Linked DNA regions of Homo sapiens: regions 1 and 3 are each linked to region 2. The links are contacts of gene promoters, found by promoter capture Hi-C in human tissues and cell types (Jung and others, 2019). All regions are on one chromosome and are shown on one strand. The core of a region is centred on a gene start or on the middle of the fragment in contact, and the rest is flanking DNA. Distances in the headings are between cores, read along the strand shown. Region 1 overlaps BRD3 (bromodomain containing 3). Region 2 holds the start of SURF4 (surfeit 4). Region 3 has its middle 6.0 kb from the start of VAV2.

The links. Contacts are between HindIII fragments. The study calls those that stand out against the background at their distance.
Region 1: a fragment that was not itself captured here is called in contact with the fragment with the promoter of SURF4 in region 2 in 1 of the 25 tissues and cell types used here (dorsolateral prefrontal cortex).
Region 3: a fragment that was not itself captured here is called in contact with the fragment with the promoter of SURF4 in region 2 in 1 of the 25 tissues and cell types used here (bladder).

Annotation. Positions count from the first base shown.
Region 1 is chr9:134,040,155-134,043,403 of GRCh38, reverse strand. BRD3 (bromodomain containing 3) reads left to right here. Exons shown (of 12, transcript NM_007371.4): 8 at 1,453-1,644; 9 at 3,135-3,249. Among named protein-coding and RNA genes, the nearest start is that of BRD3OS, 16 kb to the right of the region's middle. The HindIII fragment of the contact is 7,257 bases long and covers 1-3,249 here.
Region 2 is chr9:133,374,810-133,377,808 of GRCh38, reverse strand. It overlaps SURF4 (surfeit 4), which reads left to right and starts at 1,749. Exons shown (of 6, transcript NM_033161.4): 1 at 1,749-1,887. The coding sequence starts at 1,840. STKLD1 (serine/threonine kinase like domain containing 1) reads right to left here and starts at 1,443. Exons shown (of 18, transcript NM_153710.5): 1 at 1,249-1,443. The coding sequence starts at 1,335. RefSeq lists silencers at 1,205-1,704, 1,795-2,034, 2,045-2,324. The HindIII fragment of the contact is 3,873 bases long and covers 97-2,999 here.
Region 3 is chr9:133,996,768-133,999,976 of GRCh38, reverse strand. No RefSeq gene overlaps it. Among named protein-coding and RNA genes, the nearest start is that of VAV2, 6.0 kb to the right of the region's middle. The HindIII fragment of the contact is 5,321 bases long and covers 1-3,209 here.

The DNA.
Region 1 (3,249 bases), core at 575-3,074, 670 kb before region 2:
CATTTCCACATCACTGTGCCTCCCTGTCTTCAGTGAGCCTGGGCTGCCCCAGGGAGGGGGATGTTTGCTGAGAGGGGTGACGGAGGGCCTAGGTCCTGGTCCAAAGGCTTTCCAAAGTCAATTTTGATAGGAAGTCTGGGTGTGGTGGCTTACCCCTGTAATCTCAGCACTTTGGGAGGCCAGGGTGGGAGGATCACTTGAGCTCAGGGGTTCAAGACCAGCCTGGGCAACAGAGCAGGACCCTGTCCCTACAAAAAATAAAGTAGGCCGGGCGTGGTGGCTCACATCTATAATCCCAGCACTTTAGGAGGCCAAGGCAGGCAGATCACGAGGTCAGGAGTTCAAGAACAGCCTGGCCAACATGGTGAAACTTCGGCTCTACTAAAAATACAAAAAGTTAGCCGGGAGTAGTGGCGCATGCCTGTGATCCCAGCTACTCAGGAGGCTGAGGCAGGAGAATCACTTGAAATCAGGATGTGGAGGATGCAGTGAGCTGAGATCATGCCATTGCACTCCAGCCTGGGCAAAAGAGCAAGACTCTGTCTTGAGAGAAAAAGAAAATTAGTAAAAGTAAAACTTAAAAATGTGTGTGTGTGTGTGTGTGTGTGTGTATATTTGTGTATATATATGTGTGTGTGTATATATGTGTATATATGTGTATATATGTGTGTATATATATGTGTATATATGTGTATATATATGTGTGTGTATATGTGTGTGTGTGTATATATATGTGTGTGTGTGTGTGTGTGTGTGTATATATATTTGAGGCAGGGTCTCACTCTGTCACCCAGGCTGGAGTGCAGTGGCATGATTTCGGCTCACTGCAGCCTCGACCTCCTGGGTTCAAGCAATCCACCCATCGCAGCCTCCCGAGCAGCTAGGATCACAGACATGTGCTGCCATGACTGGCTAATTTTTATATTTTTTTGTAAATAAAGTATGGATAGGACTAGACTTTGGCCTTTTAAGCCAACTTTTGGAGTTCACCGTTCATGAGATGTGATGCTGCAGTCAGTTCCGGGGTGAAGAGATGGGAAGAGGTCAACACTCTTGGACTCCTGTGGCTGTGGAGGACCCTGTCCAAGCTCAAGGGAAGACACTGTTTCCCGTTTCACAGCAGAGGCAGCCCCAGGGAGCTTTGGGCCAGGAGGCTACAAGGATGCATGCATCTTCTAGAGAGGGCTCATGGAGTTGCTGAAGGGAGCTGTGGGCCAGCTCCTGTGTCCCCTCTTCCCAGGCCTGTCCGCAGGAATTGCCTGGGGAGGGAGGGTGGGCAAGCTGGAAGCAACCACAGCCCCCCAGGCAGGCGGGACCCTGTCTCCTCCTAGCCCCACCTTCGTAACAGCTGTGGGTGCTGCCTCAGGGGCACCTCAGAAACCCTGAGGGCCCACACCAAGGGGCAGCCCCATGGGCACCCATGTCTTCAGGGCAGCCTCTGTTCTGCCGCAGGACGTGTTTGAGATGAGGTTTGCCAAGATGCCAGATGAGCCCGTGGAGGCACCGGCGCTGCCTGCCCCCGCGGCCCCCATGGTGAGCAAGGGCGCTGAGAGCAGCCGTAGCAGTGAGGAGAGCTCTTCGGACTCAGGCAGCTCGGACTCGGAGGAGGAGCGGGCCACCAGGCTGGCGGAGCTGCAGGAGCAGGTGGGCACTGGCATGCTTGGGTGGGGTTCAGGGGCTGAGGCGGGATTGCTGGCACAGCAGCCCAAGGTCCGTCCCTTTGCATGGTTCCTTCCTCTGCCCCTGTCCCTCAGCAGCCGCGGTAGTGCTTCCCCGTAAAGACACTCGGAGTGCCCTCCCCAGGTCTGGGGTGGTGCGAGCCTAACCCACAGCACACGTGGGTGGCTGCGGGGACACGTGGCTGGGATGTTTCTGGAGACCTGGCGGGCCTCAGGTGGGAGCTCAGGGGTCATGTGTGGTTATGTGTGCCTTGCTCTGCTCCAGAAAGGCCTGTGAGGCACTTGCAGAGGCCACAGTAGTGCCTGGGCTCCAAGCAGTCACTTGCAGTGGGGTGGGGTGCAGGCTCCAGGGTCCTGAGGGCCCTGCCGTGCAGCTGCCCAGCCCCAGTCCCGCTGCCAGGCTGTGCTTCCTCCCCCTTCTCTGCTTTCCTCGTTTGCAGTATGGGACAAATGTCACCCACTCTGAGCTGTCTTGAGGTCAGATTGAGAAAGATGTGAATTGTTTCCCCAGACCTCTGGCAGCCAGCCAGATGCATGATTTCTGGGACCCCAGATTGGGAGAAAATAGAGCAGGGCTGTCGAGTCAGGAGGGGAACAGCATGAATCAGGGCTGCAAGGACAGCGATGGCCCTGCAGTCCCCAGAGTTGGGCTGGACATTTGATTTTGAAGTGGCAAGGACACACAGCAGGGAAGACGGCTGTGAGGTGGCAGCTCCTCCACCCGCCCTCTGTCTTCCTTGCACAGACCACCCAGAGGCAGGGACAGGCCGTGGACTCACATGGGCAGTGCCTCTCAAGGGGCCTCTCCCATGGAGGTGGCTGCAGTGGGGAGGGCGAGGCGCTTGGCACAATGCCAGCTGCAGGGAGGCCCTGGATTAATGCTGGTTGCTGGCAGTGGATTGTTTTAACCCCGGAGTCCTGCGTGTTATCAAATGGCTTCCCAGAAATCACTGATGAAAATCTCCTTTGTGTGGGCATTTAAACTTCTAGAGAGTCCTTCCTTATCTGAACAATGGTAATAATAAAAATGTTAGCTGCCCACCTAATGTAGATGACGGGTTGATGGGTGCAGCAAACTACCGTGGCACATGTATACCTATGTAACAAACCTGCACATTCTGCACATGTATCCCCGAACTTAAAGTATAATACATTTTTTTTAAAAAGTTAGCTGCCCTCACCGAGTCCCTGTTGTGCCACCCGCGCAGTGCTGAGCCTGTGGCCAGGCAGCTCTTCCCCACTGCAGGCGAAGAAGCCGAGGCGGAGAGGGCTCATGACTCACTGGGGGTCACGGGAGTGAGGGGCAGAGCAGGGCCCAGGTGCTCCTGGTTCACCTCCTCACCCAGCTGAGGCAGCTCCGACATCGCCCCAAGCCCCCTCCAATCCCAGGGCGCCACGCAGCCCCAGTGGTGTGGGCCGTGCCCAGCACCTGCTCAGCCGCCCGCTCTTTTCCAGCTGAAGGCCGTGCACGAGCAGCTGGCCGCCCTGTCTCAGGCCCCAGTAAACAAACCAAAGAAGAAGAAGGAGAAGAAGGAGAAGGAGAAGAAGAAGAAGGACAAGGAGAAGGAGA
Region 2 (2,999 bases), core at 500-2,999:
ATAGAAATGAACTGCACACTAAGTGTAATGTGCTTGAATCATCCCAAAACCATCCTCCCGCCTCCATCTGTGGAAAAATTGTCTTCCACAAAACTGGTCCCTTGTGCCAAAAAGGTTGGGGACTGCTATTTTTTTTTTTCTTTCTGAGACAGAGTTTTGCTCTTGTTGCCCAGGCTGGAGTCCAATGGCGCTATCTTGGCTCACCACAACCTCTGCCTCCTGGGTTCAAGCGATTCTCCAGCCTCAGCCTCCCGAGTAGCTGTGATTACAGGCATGCGCCACCACACCTGGCTAATTTTGTATTTTTAGTAGAGACAGTTTCTCCATGTTGGTCAGGCTGGTCTTGAACTCCCGATCTCAGGTGATCCGCCCGCCTTGGCCTCCCAAAGTGTTGGGGATTACAGGCGTGAGCCACCGAGCCCGGCCAGGGACTGCTGTTCTAAGCCACAGCGGGCTGAGGGCAGAGCTGGTGTGAGAGCGTTCAAGCTTAGGCAGCAAATTAAACAGTAAAATGGAGCCGTATCTCGAATCAAGTCTATTTTTTTTTCCAAAAGCAGGTATATTCCTGAAACGTCTATTTTTTTTTAATCTGAAAAACAACTTTACTTTAAAAATTATCTGGCCACCAGAAGCTCATCTGCTTCACCTCTGGCAACGCCCTATAGTCCTCTCACACAAAGACAATTCTTCCAAAGTGACAAAAATCTAACCCGCAAACTGTTTCCAAGCGAATGCATTTTTCACAAATGCTGAATCTAACATTTAATAAAGTGTATATATCATGTATAGAAGCATTTAATTAAACATTTACTTTTATTTTGCAGCTTTCCTTTTGTGTTTTGTGAATTTTTTAGGTCTCAAACATTTTCACAGACCCACGCTGCAGGGGTGTTTTTAGGGGACTGGGGGCTCCCAATTATGTACTCGGGATGTTCCCGGGGGTCCTGCCTCGGTGGACCCAAGCGCACAGACCCCAGGCACGAAGGATAGAGGAGCTGCCCCACGCCCTCAAATACTCAGCCAGGGCTGGAGAATCCTTAGTCAATTCACAAAGGGGGAAACTGAGTGGCAAAGGGCACCCAGGAGGTCACCGTTGGAGGCCCCCCGGGTTCAACCTAGGAGCTGCAGGCCGACACTGGCCAGGGCGCGGGCCCCTCGCCGCCCTCGGTCGGAACCGCCGGCCGTAGCTCCAGGGTTGCGACCGTTACCCCACGGAGCTCCCGCCTCCCCGCAGGGAACACTCGGCACCTGGTACTTCTCCATGGGCTCTCCGGGGGACCCTGGGCCTCGCTCCCCCTGCGTGGGGCGCCTGCGATTGGACCCTGGCCCAAGCATGATCAGTAGCGACCGCGTACGGGCGAGCGTCCACCCCTGGCCCCACCCCGCGTGGGTCAGTGGGACCCGCGGGATCCTCCCCGCCCGAACGGCGCCCTCGAGGCACTCAGGCGTCCCTCCCGCGCGCTGGCCCCAGACCCCCAGGTCCCCGCCCCCTTAAAAGGGACGCGTTCCGCCGGGCCGGGAGGGACCGCAGGGCCTGCGCGCGGCGGGCGGGGCCTCCAGCGTGAGAGGCGTGGCGTCGAGCGCGGCGGGCGTGGCTTCGAGCGGATGGGTCGGGAGGCTGGGGATGGCGCGTGGCCCCTTTAAGACGCACCGGGGCGGGCCCGGGCGGCGCGCGGCCCCTTTAAGGCTTGGCCTACGTGGCAGCCGCTGGAGCCGCAGCCGACGCGGAGCGAGGCCGGCCGCCGGGCACTTCCTGTGGAGGCCGCAGCGGGTGCGGGCGCCGACGGGCGAGAGCCAGCGAGCGAGCGAGCGAGCCGAGCCGAGCCTCCCGCCGTCGCCATGGGCCAGAACGACCTGATGGGCACGGCCGAGGACTTCGCCGACCAGGTGCGGCCTGCGGGCTCCTCCCCCGGCCCCGGTCCCGACCCAGGCCGCCCGGGCCGCTCCGGAGTCGGCCTCCCAGCGCAGGGCGCCAGGCCCGGGCCGCCCCCTGACTCCTTGTTCCCACAGGGGGACCCCCCCGCCCGGGCCCTCTGTCCCGGCTGGACAGCCCCAAACCCGGCCTCCGGGCCCAGTCTCCCCTGCCCGCTGGGCCGCTCCCGGAGCCCGGGCCTCGGCGCCCTGCCTGGCTAGCCGCCCCCACCCTCCAGCCAGCCCGGGGCGCGGGCTGTGGGGGTTTCTTCCCGGGCCGGCGGCGCGAGTCCTGGCGTTGGGTCGGGTCTGAGGCTCGCGGGGAGCGCCTCGGCGTTTGGAGCTGCTGGGGGGTCCCCGCACGTTTTTCCTCTCACTGGGGCTCCCGGAGGCGGGCTGGGAGCTCGGGGACGAACGGGGGCCGGGGGTCCTCCCAGAGGAAAGGGGGCGCGCTGGCGTGCGCCCCAGCTACAGGAAGCCACAGCACCTTTTCCTTTTCTCTTTCCCAGATGTGCTGGACTCTTGGGGTCCCTTTGACCCTGTCTGCGTCTCCCTCCCCGTTTGGACTCTGCCCTGGGCTGGATTGAGTGGGGACCTGTACACAGCCTGGGAGGAGGGGAAGCCTATCTCCCTGATAGTCTCCTTCCAGAAGTGTCCAGGTGGCATTCTGAGCAACAGGGAAGCCTTTGAAACAGGCGGTTGGGTAACTGTTGAGAGCATTCGGGAACTGGGTGGACAGGATCCGATCCTACAAAGTGAAGGGACACAACTCCCTTCCCTCTTTCTTGATTAAGCTTGACAGAACAAAAAAACAAAAACAAAAGGTGGTGGTGGTTACGCAGATTTATGCCTTTTACTTCTAAAAGAATCCCGTTATGTCGACAAATTAACAGCCTTATCCCCGCAGGGAGAGCCTTGTGTGGCCCACTTGCCGTTTTTTCCTCGGTTTACTTAATGTGTTCGTGTGGCTTTGCTAGAGTTTTAAGTAGTGATGGTTAAATTTTTAAATTTTTCTGGAGGTGGTAGTGAGTCATCAAACTCTGAGGCCTAGACTTATCGGAAGGCTTGTATATGTGTGGTTTAAAAAA
Region 3 (3,209 bases), core at 653-3,152, 620 kb before region 2:
CATGTGGGTCTTGGCTCATCCTCCTAGCTGGTCTGGGCCTCGCCTCCCTCTCCTGCTTTGGGTTGGCCTGCTGGGCTGTGATGAGAGGGCTCCTGCAGAGATCCCAAGTCCACCTCCACACGCTGCCCAGCCTCTGGCCTACACTTGCATGAAGTCCGTTCACATTCACGGAGGGAAGACTGTTTCCCCCTTCCTTAAAGCCTTGATTAGGTGACCCTGAACTCATGAGCTCAAAGACTCCAGGCAGTGCTCACAGAAAACTGCCCCGGTCTCCTAAATAGTCACTGGAAGGTGTCCAAACAATGGCCACTTGGCAGTGAGATTTCAGAGATTTCAGTTTAGGGTACGATCCATGGATTATGGCATTTGATTTAATTTTGAAAGTTGAACAAGAAGTAAAAAATCTATATTTTGCCCTTTCAAACAAAATGTAAAAGCCCCCACCCAATAATTCAGTCAGGCATACTCTGACTGCATGGTGGGCCAGATGGTCTTTTTCTACACCTATAATTTCCCAGGAAATTGTGACAGCTGAATTTGCATGATGTAGCTACAAATGGAATTTGCACAATGTGTGTGTTCATGTGGTTTGGACATGAGAATAATTCCTTTATCCCATCATGTTGGGAAGAGTCAAAACATTCACTTGCCCTTCCTCATGAACAAAGCCAGTGCTCAGTCAGTATTTTCTATGTGGAGGATGGAGGATGGGTGGAGGGATGTGAGGGATACACAGAGGGATGAATACAGGGATGAATGGAGGGATGGGTGGGGGAGGGGTGGAGAGATGAATTTAATGGATGGAGAGATGAATAGAGAGATGGATGGGTGGATGGATGGAGGGATGGGTGGATGGATGGAGGGATAGGTGGATGGATGGAGAGATGGGTGGAGGAATGGATGGGCGGAAGAATGGGTGGAGGGATAGATGGAGGGAGGGATGAATGTGGGGGTGGGTTGAGGGATGGATGGGGGAGTAATGGGTGAAGGGATGGGTTGAGGGATGGGAGAAGGAGGGAGGGACATAGGAGGGGTGAGTGGAAGAATGAATGGAAGGATGGGTGGAGGGATGGGTGGACGGAGGGATAGATGGAGGGAACAGTGGAGGAATGGATTGGTGGAAGGATGGAGGGATAGGTGGAAGGATGGGTGGAGGGATGGGTGGACGGAGGGATAGATGGAGGGAACAGTGGAGGAATGGATTGGTGGAAGGATGGAGGGATAGGTGGAAGGATGGGTGGAGGGATGGGTGGACGGAGGGATAGATGGAGGGAACAGTGGAGGAATGGATTGGTGGAAGGATGGAGGGATAGGTGGAAGGATGGGTGGAGGGATGGGTGGACGGAGGGATAGATGGAGGGAACAGTGGAGGAATGGATTGGTGGAAGGATGGAGGGATAGGTGGAAGGATGGGTGGAGGGATGGGTGGACGGAGGGATAGATGGAGGGAACAGTGGAGGAATGGATTGGTGGAAGGATGGAGGGATAGGTGGAAGGATGGGTAGAGGGATGGATGGAGGGAGGGATGGGTGGAAGAATGGATGGAAGGATGGGTTGAGGGATAGATGGGGAAGGATGGAAGGATGTAGGAGGGATGGGTGGAAGAGTGGATTCCAGGATGGGTGGAGGGATGGATAGAGGGAGGGATGGGTGGAGGAATGTGGGAGGGATGGATGGAGGGGTGAATGGAGGGAAGGACGGCGGGATGGGTGGAGCGATGAGTGGAGGGATAGGTGGAGGGATGGGTGGAGGGATGGGTGGAGGGATGTGGGATGGGTGGAGGGATGTGGGATGGGTAGAGGGAGGGATGAGTGGAGGGATGGCTGGAGGGATGTGGGATGGTTGGAAGGAGGGATGGGTGGAGGGATGTGGGATGGATGGAGGGAGAGATGGATGGATGGAGGGATGGATGGAAGGAGGGATGGGTGGAGGGATGGGTGGAGGGATGGGTGGAGGGATGGGTGGAGGGATGTGGGATGGATGGAGGGAGAGATGGATGGAGGGAGGGATGGATGGAGGGATGGAGGGAGGGATGGATGGAGGGAGGGATGGGTGGAGGGATGTGGGATGGATGGAGGGAGGGATGGGTGGAGGGATGTGGGATGGGTGGAGGAATGTGAGAGGGATGGATGGAGGGATGGGTGGAGGAATGTGGGAGGGATGGATGGAAGGAGGGATGGATGGAGGGATGAGTGGAGGAATGTGGCATGGATGGAAGGATGGGTTGAGAGACGGATGGATGGAAGAGTGGGTAGCAAGATATAGGAGGGATGGATGGAGGGGCAGGTGGAGGGATGATGGACAGACTCCAGCCTTGGGCGGAGCTCCTTTGAAGAAGCTTCAGTCTATCCCTGGGATGCTGGCTGTGGAATGAGGGTCCCCTGAGCCTTGGACCTTTTGATGAAAAGTACTGAGACCTTGCAGCAGGTCTTGGTGTTTTTTGGGGGAATACTGGACTGAGACAGTGCCCACTCTGGCTGTATGGAGGTTCTCTGGGAGGGCCTGTATGGAAAGAAACAGTCTTGAGTGAGAGGTAAACTCTCAAGCCCTTCCACTGTGGCATGTAACGCGCTAAGGGACACATGTATTCCTGTTCAGAAACCAGACCCTGGGGCTGCCCAGAGAATGAGGACACCAATTTGATGAGGGCAGCTCTGCAGAAACCCAGGGGAGGGGCGCTGGGCCGGTCGTGGACTCAGATTGTCCTGTGCCACTGCCCTTGAAATCATTATTTATCAGTAGAAAACAAAAGCAAACCTCTCAGCTGGAGGCATAGGAGAAGGTGGACCTGAGTTCGAATCTGAACTCTGCCAGTTGCATAACCTTGGCCAAGTCACTCAAGCTATGTGAGCCGACCTCATCTGTAGCACAGTACGATGACAGTCCTCGCCTCCTAGGGTGTGGGTGGTCCTGGCTCAGGGCCTGGGTGCAGGAAGGACGTGCTGAGTTGTAGGTGGAGCATCACTCGTGGTGTGAGTGACTGGGCAGAGAAGCCAGAGGGGAAGCCCAGCCATGCTGCCCACATAAGGGCAGCCACCTGTCTACCCACTCCTTCCTCCAAAGGTCTCCTCTCTGGGACCCCGAGGATCCAAGAGTCACCAGGTTTCCAGGACCTCCAGGATGCGTGGATATACTTCCAGCTGCCCTTCCCTCCTTTAAGTCAGTGTCGGACCCTTCGGCTCCCGTTTCTTAGCCTTGCTACTCCTGCC